3 separate regions of the Homo sapiens genome follow, and regions 1 and 3 are each linked to region 2. Evidence: promoter capture Hi-C in 16 types of primary human blood cells and fetal thymus (Javierre and others, 2016). All regions are on one chromosome and are shown on one strand. The core of a region is centred on a gene start or on the middle of the fragment in contact, and the rest is flanking DNA. Distances in the headings are between cores, read along the strand shown.

Region 1 (2,975 bases), core at 416-2,915, about 46 Mb after region 2:
ATCCTTATGGCCTAGCACAAATTAGGTACTCAAGAAATGCAATGAATAAATGAATGAATGGGAAGTATATACAAACGCAATCTGTATTTACCTCACATCTCCAAAAATGTCTGGGAAGGGGGAGGTATTTGTACTGCTGGATGCAGGTAGCCATGATTTGATACAAATACCTGGCCCATCTACTGCATTCCCTTTGTGCAAAGACAGTTAACTTTCCTGAATAATATCTCCACCGTAATGCCCATGCTCATGGCATCCTGATGTTTAGCAACTTTTTGGCTTTTTGAAAACAATGAAGAAAGGTGGAAGTACAGGGAGAAGGATTCGGAAAAGTCTCAAAAAATCAAAGCCAAAAACCAGGAGGGAGGAGATGGGCAAACAGTTCAGTTCACTTGAAGGAACATCTGAGGTTGTCAGAGGTCCATGTGCTTACCTATGATGGTGGCGGGGTTTGGGCTCGGGCTTTATATGTTTTGTTACTGTCCAGGGTCACTGGCGGAGTAGTACCTGGCTGTGGAAACTCGGACTACACAGGTAGCCGGAACTGCAGCCAACCTTCAGAAGCTTAAGGGAAGCACTTTCGCGCTTACTTCCTCCTTCCCAGGGTCTCCGCGCGCGTTTGGGAACTCAGCCGCCGCCCAAACACAAAATGATCTGGGCAGCTTCGCTGCAGGATTGAGGCCACAGCCAGGATTTAAGATGGCAGCGAAACACTTCGATGGCCCGTGGAATCTGCCCAAAAGAAAAATGGCCTCTGTTCAGAATATCGCGGCTTTCAAAGTGGGCCCAAAACAAAAATGGCGCCGGACGCAGGCTATTTTTAAAGGCTGGGACCCCAATGACTCTCATTAGCAAATAACGTATCATGGTAACTCACGGTGCTAGGCAGTTGAACTGACCGAGAGAAAAAAAAACGCTTTTCTGTGGTGTGTTTTCTTAACATTGGAAAATGACTAGCTCAAGAATGGAACATATATTCGGTGCGAAAGATTGTGAGAAAGGAAAGGTAGCTTTCACAGTGCCGGATAAATTTTAATAAAAATAGCCATGTTTGAACATAACTTCCTATATGTTTTTTAATGTTAAAAGAGAATAAAAGTTTTGTCCTGGAACCCAGAAGCAGGATGGGGAAATGCCGGGTGAATTATCTAATCTGTGAAGAGTACGAGCTGCGAAACTCCGCACTTCCCTGTAAGCCCTCAGGAAGGACTGAGGGCGGATGCTTTAGTAGAAGGCAACTAGCTCTCACGGCGCATGTCCGTTTTCCAAACCCGATCCCGGGAGTTACGGGAGAGTAAAAATCCTGATTTTCCAGACAACCGCACAGAGAGGCGGGATACTGGCGCTGAGCGACAAATCCAAGCGCTTTGTAATTGGTCATGTCAGGACAGAGAGCAGAGCGCAGTGGACTATTTCTTTCTTTCATTCAATAAATCATTGTCAAGCGCTCACCAAAAGGCAGAAGCTGTGCCATTTTGATATGTTATTTAAATTTTATGCGTTCTTTTAAAATTTCAGTTTCAACAATTTGCTGGAATATACGCTGAATAAACTTCGCTCCCCGTTTTTTCCGGTGACGGCCGCTGTTGGCTGGAGCTTCACGGAAAACCCGGAGAAGCGGAGTGGGGGCGGCCCGGCGTCGACCGCAGAGCTGCGCGTGCTCCGTGCCCTCGCGCGACGCGAAGGTTGTCGGGATCCGCGGCAGCAGCGGCTGCTTGAGATCTGTTTCTGGGGCCTCTGGCGGTGGCGGCCTGGGGCGGCGCGACGGCTGGTGCGCAGGTGAGAGCGCTGGGACTCTAGGTGGAAAAGCCCGCTTTGTGTCCGGCCGAAGAGAGGGGAAGGGGCTTGTAGGCGCCTCCCTCTCCACCCCCAAAGGTCACCGGTGTCCTCACTGAAGGATATTTGAGGGCGGGGACAAGGAGGAGGCTGGCTCTCTGTAGGAGGCGAAAGACCGACCTCTGAAATAGCTGCCGATGGTAAATGTTGCGGTCGGCACGGATGCGGGCGGCGAGGAGGTCTTCCCGCCGGTGGGGAGAGCTGGAGGAGTGGCGCCTCACCACGCTCCCACCTGCGCTGCCGCCTTCTACGCCGAACCTGTGACTCCCCGTCCCCTCCCTCGCTGGGAGGGGCCCCGTGTGCCCCTGACTGTCTGGAGGGTGCACGGTGTACCCCAGGCTGTCGGGAGGTGGGGGCCGCCCTCCGACGGCGTTAGAGACGTTGTGCAGCGTGGCCCTGCCAGCTACGTGAAAGCAGCCGCGGGGCTTGCAGGGCTGTGGACCTTGTAGGGATGACCCTCTAAGGTCATGCTCGTCTTCCTCCCCGATAAGACCATACCCAAATCCTGTTGCCGTTTCAGAGACTCAATATGACGGTTTCATTCATTCATTAACATCTTCAGTTTATCCATAAACAGATATACACGTGTCTACAGCACTGCCGAGTTAGTAGATACGGCAGTGACCAAGAGGGACTTGCACGGTCCTGACTCCATGTTCTAGTGATGGGGGAGAAACAATACGCTCCCTATCCATGAGTTCCGCATGTGTGAATTCAACCAACTGCGGATAGAAAATATTTTGGGGCGGCGGGGTTTGGTGGCTCACCCCTGTAACCCCGCACTTTAGGAGCCCGAGGCGGGCGGATCACTTGAGTCAGGAGTTTGGGGCCAGCCAGGCCAACGTGGCGAAACCCGGTCTCTGCTAAAAGTACAAAAAAATGAGCCGGGCGCAGTGGCGCACGCCTGTAATCCCAGCTACTTGGGAGGTTGAGGCAGGAGAATCGCTTGAGCCCTGGAGGCGGAGGTTGCGGTGAGCGGAGATCACGCCACTGCACTCCAGGTTGGGCGACAGAGACTCTATTTAAGAAAATAAATAAATAAAAACATTCTGGGGGAAAAAAGATGGTTACATCTGTACTGAACACGTGCAGACCTTTTTTCTTGTCATTCCCTAAACACTGCAGTGTAACAACTACTT
Region 2 (3,102 bases), core at 1-2,500:
AAATCACAAGTGGGTAGTCTGGCAAAGAAAAGTTGATGAGAGATTCTACTGTTAACGTTGGGTTAATATGACTCGAATAATTTCCGTATGCTAGCTCAATGCTTTACATGCACATCCTGTTTACCCTGCAGTAATCTGTTAATTCGTCTTATGTGAATTTAACTCTTAGTCCTAATAAGGTACCTGGAAGGATGGAGGGAAGCCATTTTTGGTTCCCCTACACCACTGTTCTATCCGGTCTCTTCACTTCTGCTGAGCACATCCCGGGTGTACATACACACACACACACACACATATGTGTGTGTATATATATGTATATGTGTGTGTGTGTGTATATATATATATATTTTAAGTGGCCCACCCCTAACTTCTCAACTCCCACAGAACGTTCACTCGCCAGGTAAACAGAAGCCTAATTATCCCCAATTTGCAGGTGAGCACACGAGGACAAGAACCCGATCCAGGACCGGATACATCGCAGTTGGAAAGGCTAGAACACAGATGCCCCCTCACTATATGCGCCGCGACCATCTGGATGCAGAGGCGAACTAAGGACTGGGTGGGAATGGAAGCGAGGCCCTTCGAGAAGAGGAAGGGGTGCAGGCCAAGCCGGGCAACTTAGGAAACGCAAAGTAGAGGCGCATGCCACCTTGCTAACTCTCGACTCTTCCAGTCTCGCCCCAGTCGTTTCTGTGGTTTTCTCTAAATGCCCCAGCCGACCGCACCAGCTACTCTCCCCGTGTCCCAGTACCAGCTGGTCCGGTTCTCTTGGTATCCCGCTCTCTCCTGGAAAAATGGAGGCGCGAATCCTGCCCAATCTACCGCTCCGAGCGCACGTTCACTGCGCACGCTGAAAGGGCGCCAAGCCGACCGCTGCGCTATCGATCGGTCCCACTCTCTCTTGCTTTTCTCGCCATCTTACTTACTGGCACGTTCAAAGGTTAGTTCACCTCCTTGGACTTTATCTCCAATGCGTCAAGCTTGACGTCAAGGGGCTGTTGCTTCACCGATAAATGGCCGACCGCGGAGAGCACCCTGGGGCTGGGACTGCCACAGGTCTGGCTGGCCGTTGGCTCCACCACTTCCGGGTTCTTAGGGAGCAAGTGCGCCTGCGCGCGGTGTGCGCCCTTAAACGCGACTCAAGGCGTCGGGTTTGTTGTCAACCAATCACAAGGCAGCCTCGCTCGAGCGCAGGCCAATCGGCTTTCTAGCTAGAGGGTTTAACTCCTATTTAAAAAGAAGAACCTTTGAATTCTAACGGCTGAGCTCTTGGAAGACTTGGGTCCTTGGGTCGCAGGTGGGAGCCGACGGGTGGGTAGACCGTGGGGGATATCTCAGTGGCGGACGAGGACGGCGGGGACAAGGGGCGGCTGGTCGGAGTGGCGGAGCGTCAAGTCCCCTGTCGGTTCCTCCGTCCCTGAGTGTCCTTGGCGCTGCCTTGTGCCCGCCCAGCGCCTTTGCATCCGCTCCTGGGCACCGAGGCGCCCTGTAGGATACTGCTTGTTACTTATTACAGCTAGAGGTACAAGGGGTTTGTTGAGTGGTGTTGACATGCGCGGGAGGGGTGGGTGGGCTTCAGATTGGATTTTGTCCTCCGAGATCACCTGGGTAAGAAAAGCACAGAAGGTCTCTGCTGTGTTGGAGTTCACGTTCTAGTGGGTGGGGAGACAGACGGTAAGCGTACGGAGAACTTGCAGCTGGGGTGGGTGTTACAGAGGAAAAGCAGGAGTGCGGTTTAACGGGGGCCGCTTTAGATAGAATAGCCTAAGAAGGCCCTTGTCCTGGCTGGATGAGTGGGTGAATTGATGAATGAGAACCTCCTTGCAGAGGCCTTCCCGGTCCGTACTTCTCAGACCGTAGACCTTGGAGCAGTTGTACCGGGATAACTTGCAGTGCTTGTTAAACATATAGCTCCACCGAGAGCCCGGTAAATCAGAATCTCTGAGGGGTAGGACCCAGGTGTCTAGTTATTAACAAACTCTCCAGATGATTCTTAGGTTTCATTGAGAACTAGGGATGCAGACCGGTGCATACAAATCGTCTGGGGACGTTAAAATGCAGAATCTGTTTTTTTAGACCTGGGGTTAGGCCTCAGAGTCTCCATTTCTAAGAACCATCCGGCTGAGGTAGACGTAGCCACTGTCCTTAACTCTCGTAATGTCTCTTCCTCTTCCGTAACCTTCCTTGTCCCTTGAATTAAACGTTTTTCAGCAACCTACTCAGTTCGTCCTTCCCTTCATCTCTGCAGACATGCACAGGTCTGAGGGAGGAAGGAATAAACCGTATAAACCTCCTGCGCTATTAGCCTAACAGCTTTTCTATTCAAAATAGTAGGACTTCTGGTTTGAACTGAATGGATCCTGTGAAAGTCATCTGGTTCTTCAATCTGGTTGCAGATTAGAGTCACCTGAAGGGCAGTCTCCTTGGCGTTGTCTCCAGAATTCTGGATTAGAATCTTATTCCATTCTGCTTGTTATTCAATTTCCCTAGAAAGAAAGGTAGAATAAATTGGAGCAAATGCCTGTAGCTTCTGTCAGAAGAATGTTGAATAAATGTTGTTAGGCCTATGTGATCTCATTAGACTGCTACTTAGAATTGTAAGGGAAGTAAAGCATTAGAGCATGTGTGAAATTAAATATTTGATTAACACAAGTGTGCATTTCCTTGTTGCTGTTTATCAACTTTTACTTACCCACTGTTTTTTTATAAGGGCTGCAGCCTGTAGTCTGGGCCTGGCTTCATCATGGAATTATTTGCTTAATTGTAAAATGGTAATCTTAATTTTTTTTTTTGAGACAGGGTCTCACTCCATTGCCCAGGCCAGAGTGCGGGGATATTTGATAAGAAACTTCAGTGAAGGCCGGGCGCGGTGGCTCATGCCCGTAATCCCAGCATTTTCGGAGGCCGAGGTGGGTGGATCACCTGAGGTCGGGAGTTCCAGACCAGCCCTACCAACATAGAGAAACCCTGTCTCTACTAAAAATACAAAATCAGCTGGGCGTGGTGGTGCATGTCTGTAATCCCAGCTACTCTGGAGGCTGAGGCAGGAGAATTGCTTGAACCCAGGAGGTGGAGGTTGCGGGTGAGCCGAGATTGCGCCAT
Region 3 (3,091 bases), core at 334-2,833, about 38 Mb after region 2:
ATACATCCTGTTCATATCCTAAAATCTAGGGTAACACACAACTCAGCTATTGGGGTTCAAGGGAACAAGCCCCTCAAGAAAAGTAGTAAAAAGGCAAATTAAAGAGTCTATCAAATTAAAGTGGCCTCTCGCGCCCACTTCCTGAATATGGATAACAACTGTCTGTTATTTTGGGAAGTACCATACTGTAAATAATTTTGATTAAGGCAATAATATTGCATGGCTAGAAAAGCAAATGAATTACTCTACTACATAAAGCCCAGAACACAAGAATTCCAATGTTTGCTCCAACTGAAACTCTAAGAAATCTGTTTATTTCTGGCAACGGCAAGAACCTGAAGCACTGTGTGCACAGGAAGCACTCTGGAGCTTCATGGGAAGCAAAGGGATAACTAAAGTCGGAATGAAAGCAAGTTCTATCACAACTCTCAGCAAGTATGTCAGCAGATTTCATTAAATAACCGTCTCTCTCTCAAAACGTTCTTTATTAAAAGGCACTGGCGGCCGGGCGCGGTGGCTCACGCCTGTAATCCCAGCACTTTGGGCGACCGAGGCCGGTGGATGACCTGAGGTCAGGAATTCAAGACCAGCCTGGCCAACATGGCAAAACCCCGTCTCTACTAAAAATACAAAAATTAGCTGGGCGTGGTGGCAGGTGCCTGTAATCCCAGCTACTCGGGAGGCTGCGGCAGGGAGGACTGCTTGACCTTGGGAGGCATTGGTTGCAGTGAGCCGAGATCACGCCACTGCACTCCAGCCTGGGCGACAGAGCGAGACTCCATCTCAAAAAAAAAAAAAAAAAAAAAGAAGCTACTGCCTCCATCTAATGGTTTCCAAGCATGTACAGCCTAAGACCTGCTCCCTCCTTTTCCTACTGCCTGTTTCCCTCACCCTTCTAGGGTCTGGATTCTTAGCAGTGGACACATAATCCAAGGGGACTATAGAAGGTCCACTAATCATCTGAAGTTATGCGCATGAGGGAATATGCCGTTTTTCTAGGGAGATGGGTCCATAGCTTTTACCAAAGTATCGGGGAAGGTATCTGAAGAGGTAAATAACTGAAAGTATGAATTAGTGAATGAATGAAAGGCCTGGAAAGATAACAGGAGAATATGCCAAAAAATCTGAACCACCCTTATCGCGCCAACTCGTAACTTCTCAGGACACAGTGACCATGTGTATGTAAGAATAAGTGAGGTTTAATCCTTGAAGGGAGTCCAAGGACCTGGGTTCCAGTTCCAGCTGTCATGAAGCAAAAGTCGTTTCACTTGTCTGAGTCTTGAGTTTCTCAACTATAAAACGGGACTTGGGTCCTTCCAGGTGTGCGCACTCCGCAATTCTGGGGAAACTGGAGCCAGAAATCGGTCCCGGCCTGGTGCGGGACGACATCCGCAGGGGACTCCCGGATCATCCATTCCCCCGCTACCCTAAACTGTCAAGAAAAGGCCTCCTCCCAGAAGCCGCTCACCTCGCCCCCGGCAGAAACTCATACCCGTGCCCTCGGCCCTCCGTCACCTATGCGCCCCGCTCACCTGGCCGGAGCCGCTCACCTAGCTAGAGCCGTCCTCACCCACAGCTGCAACAAGCAGGCTCCGGCTCCCACCGCCAAGTCCAGCTCAGCTCTCAACCGATTGGCCAGCGCCCCAGCGCGTCATGCCACGGCGCTGTCCACTGGCCAATCAAAGAGCGCTTCTCCGACGGACTGGAGGAAGCGAGAGACTCAGAGAAGCTCTGCCACCATCTTGGAACAGGGCAAGACAGGTGTATGTCGCACTTCAAAACGAGAGTTCCTCGGAACACGTTTCCCCACCCCTAAACGTTTCTGTTTCAGAAAACCCCGGCGCCTGCCGCACCGTTGCCTAAGCGCAGCCAGCGCTCCTCAGAGGTTCGCCCTGATACAATATGACATCCGCTCGTCTCAGTGGGAAGTCCCGCTGATCGCCTTAGCTACCGGAAAGCGAGAACGATGACGTATGCTCGCGGAACAGGGAGCTGCACTGGTTGGAAGAAACTAAGGCTGCCGGAAGAAGGCATTAGCATGCGGAAGGGGCGGGGCGGGTGGTGAGCGCGGCGGCGCTTACGCACTTGCTGGTTTGGGAGTCGGTCTCTGTGGTTAAGTTTGAAGTACAGAGGTGTGGTGGTGCTTCACGTTACAAGCTCTCCTACCGTCGCTTGCTGTAATGTCTTGGCGCTCTCAGCGGAGGCTGGCACTAGCGCACAGTCCCTGTCATCCTTCTACATGGAGATAAATAATTGAGAACTGTAATATTCAACCATTTTAGGAGAGTAAGCTTAGAAATACATGGAACATAACTTTCTTTTAAAAAATAATTCCAACGTTTAGATTTAGGGGGTACACTGCGTATTTGTTACCTGGCTATGAGGTTTCGAATTCGAATGAGCTGGTCACCCAGATACTGAGCATAGTACCCAAGTTTTTCAGCCCCTCCCTGCCTCCCTCCCCACTCTAGTAGTCCCCAGCGTCTATTAATGTCACCTTTGTGTCCATGTGTGCCCAATGCTTAGCTCCCACTTTCAAGTGAGAACATGTATTTGGTTTTCTGCTTCTGCGTTAATTCTTTTAGGATCATGGCCTCCAGATGCATCCATGTTGCTGCAAAAGGCGCGATAGAACACAACTGTATAAAGCCACCACAACCATTTTTACACACGCTGACAAGTGGCAAACATGAACACATCATTACTGTGACTCAGAGTTGTAGTCTCTGTAGCATATAAAAATAAGCAAAACGATGTAAACATAAAATTATGCAAGAACATATCTAGGCATCCAAGAAGTATCCATTAATTAGCTCAATTTAATACTAAGTTTTAAGTTATCTACAGATCATAGAAATTATTAATAGTTTAAGGCACAAAGAAACAATTACTGTTAAATGTGAGAATGATTCAGTTTTGTTGAACAAATTCACATTTTTCAGGATCTTAAACAATGTAATGTTAATATTAGCTTATCAATAGTAAACTTTTATAAATTTAGGAAGTTCAGATTAATTATTCTCGGTAAGGAAACAAACTCAAAATGTACACATGTATAATACTTAACACTGAGAAAAGACATAGCTGGGAT

Evidence for each region. The method cuts DNA at HindIII sites, captures the fragments that hold promoters and counts their contacts. A CHiCAGO score of 5 or more calls a contact.
Region 1: a contact is called between the fragment with the promoter of MKKS here and the fragment with the promoter of AURKA in region 2, in 3 of 17 cell types (total B cells, total CD8 T cells and non-activated CD4 T cells). The highest score is 15.1, in total B cells.
Region 3: the fragment with the promoter of SEC23B here is called in contact with the fragment with the promoter of AURKA in region 2 in 5 of 17 cell types (fetal thymus, total CD4 T cells, total CD8 T cells and 2 more); the score reaches 12.1 in fetal thymus.

The regions. Positions count from the first base shown.
Region 1 is chr20:10,432,912-10,435,886 of GRCh38, reverse strand. It overlaps MKKS (MKKS centrosomal shuttling protein), which reads left to right and starts at 1,665. Exons shown (of 6, transcript NM_170784.3): 1 at 1,665-1,779. It overlaps SLX4IP (SLX4 interacting protein), which reads right to left and starts at 582. Exons shown (of 8, transcript NM_001009608.3): 1 at 434-582. LOC128706665 reads left to right here and starts at 1,665. Exons shown (of 3, transcript NM_001394148.2): 1 at 1,665-1,779. LOC128706666 reads left to right here and starts at 1,665. Exons shown (of 3, transcript NM_001394149.2): 1 at 1,665-1,779. RefSeq lists enhancers at 429-478, 639-868, 1,759-1,818. The HindIII fragment of the contact is 4,604 bases long and covers 567-2,975 here.
Region 2 is chr20:56,390,363-56,393,464 of GRCh38, reverse strand. AURKA (aurora kinase A) reads left to right here and starts at 1,250. Exons shown (of 9, transcript NM_198437.3): 1 at 1,250-1,297. It overlaps CSTF1 (cleavage stimulation factor subunit 1), which reads right to left and starts at 820. Exons shown (of 6, transcript NM_001324.3): 1 at 752-820. RefSeq lists an enhancer at 865-1,104. The HindIII fragment of the contact is 5,454 bases long and covers 983-3,102 here.
Region 3 is chr20:18,506,432-18,509,522 of GRCh38, reverse strand. SEC23B (SEC23 homolog B, COPII component) reads right to left here and starts at 1,583. Exons shown (of 20, transcript NM_006363.6): 1 at 1,551-1,583. RefSeq lists enhancers at 1,313-1,362, 1,713-2,042. The HindIII fragment of the contact is 4,172 bases long and covers 1-2,293 here.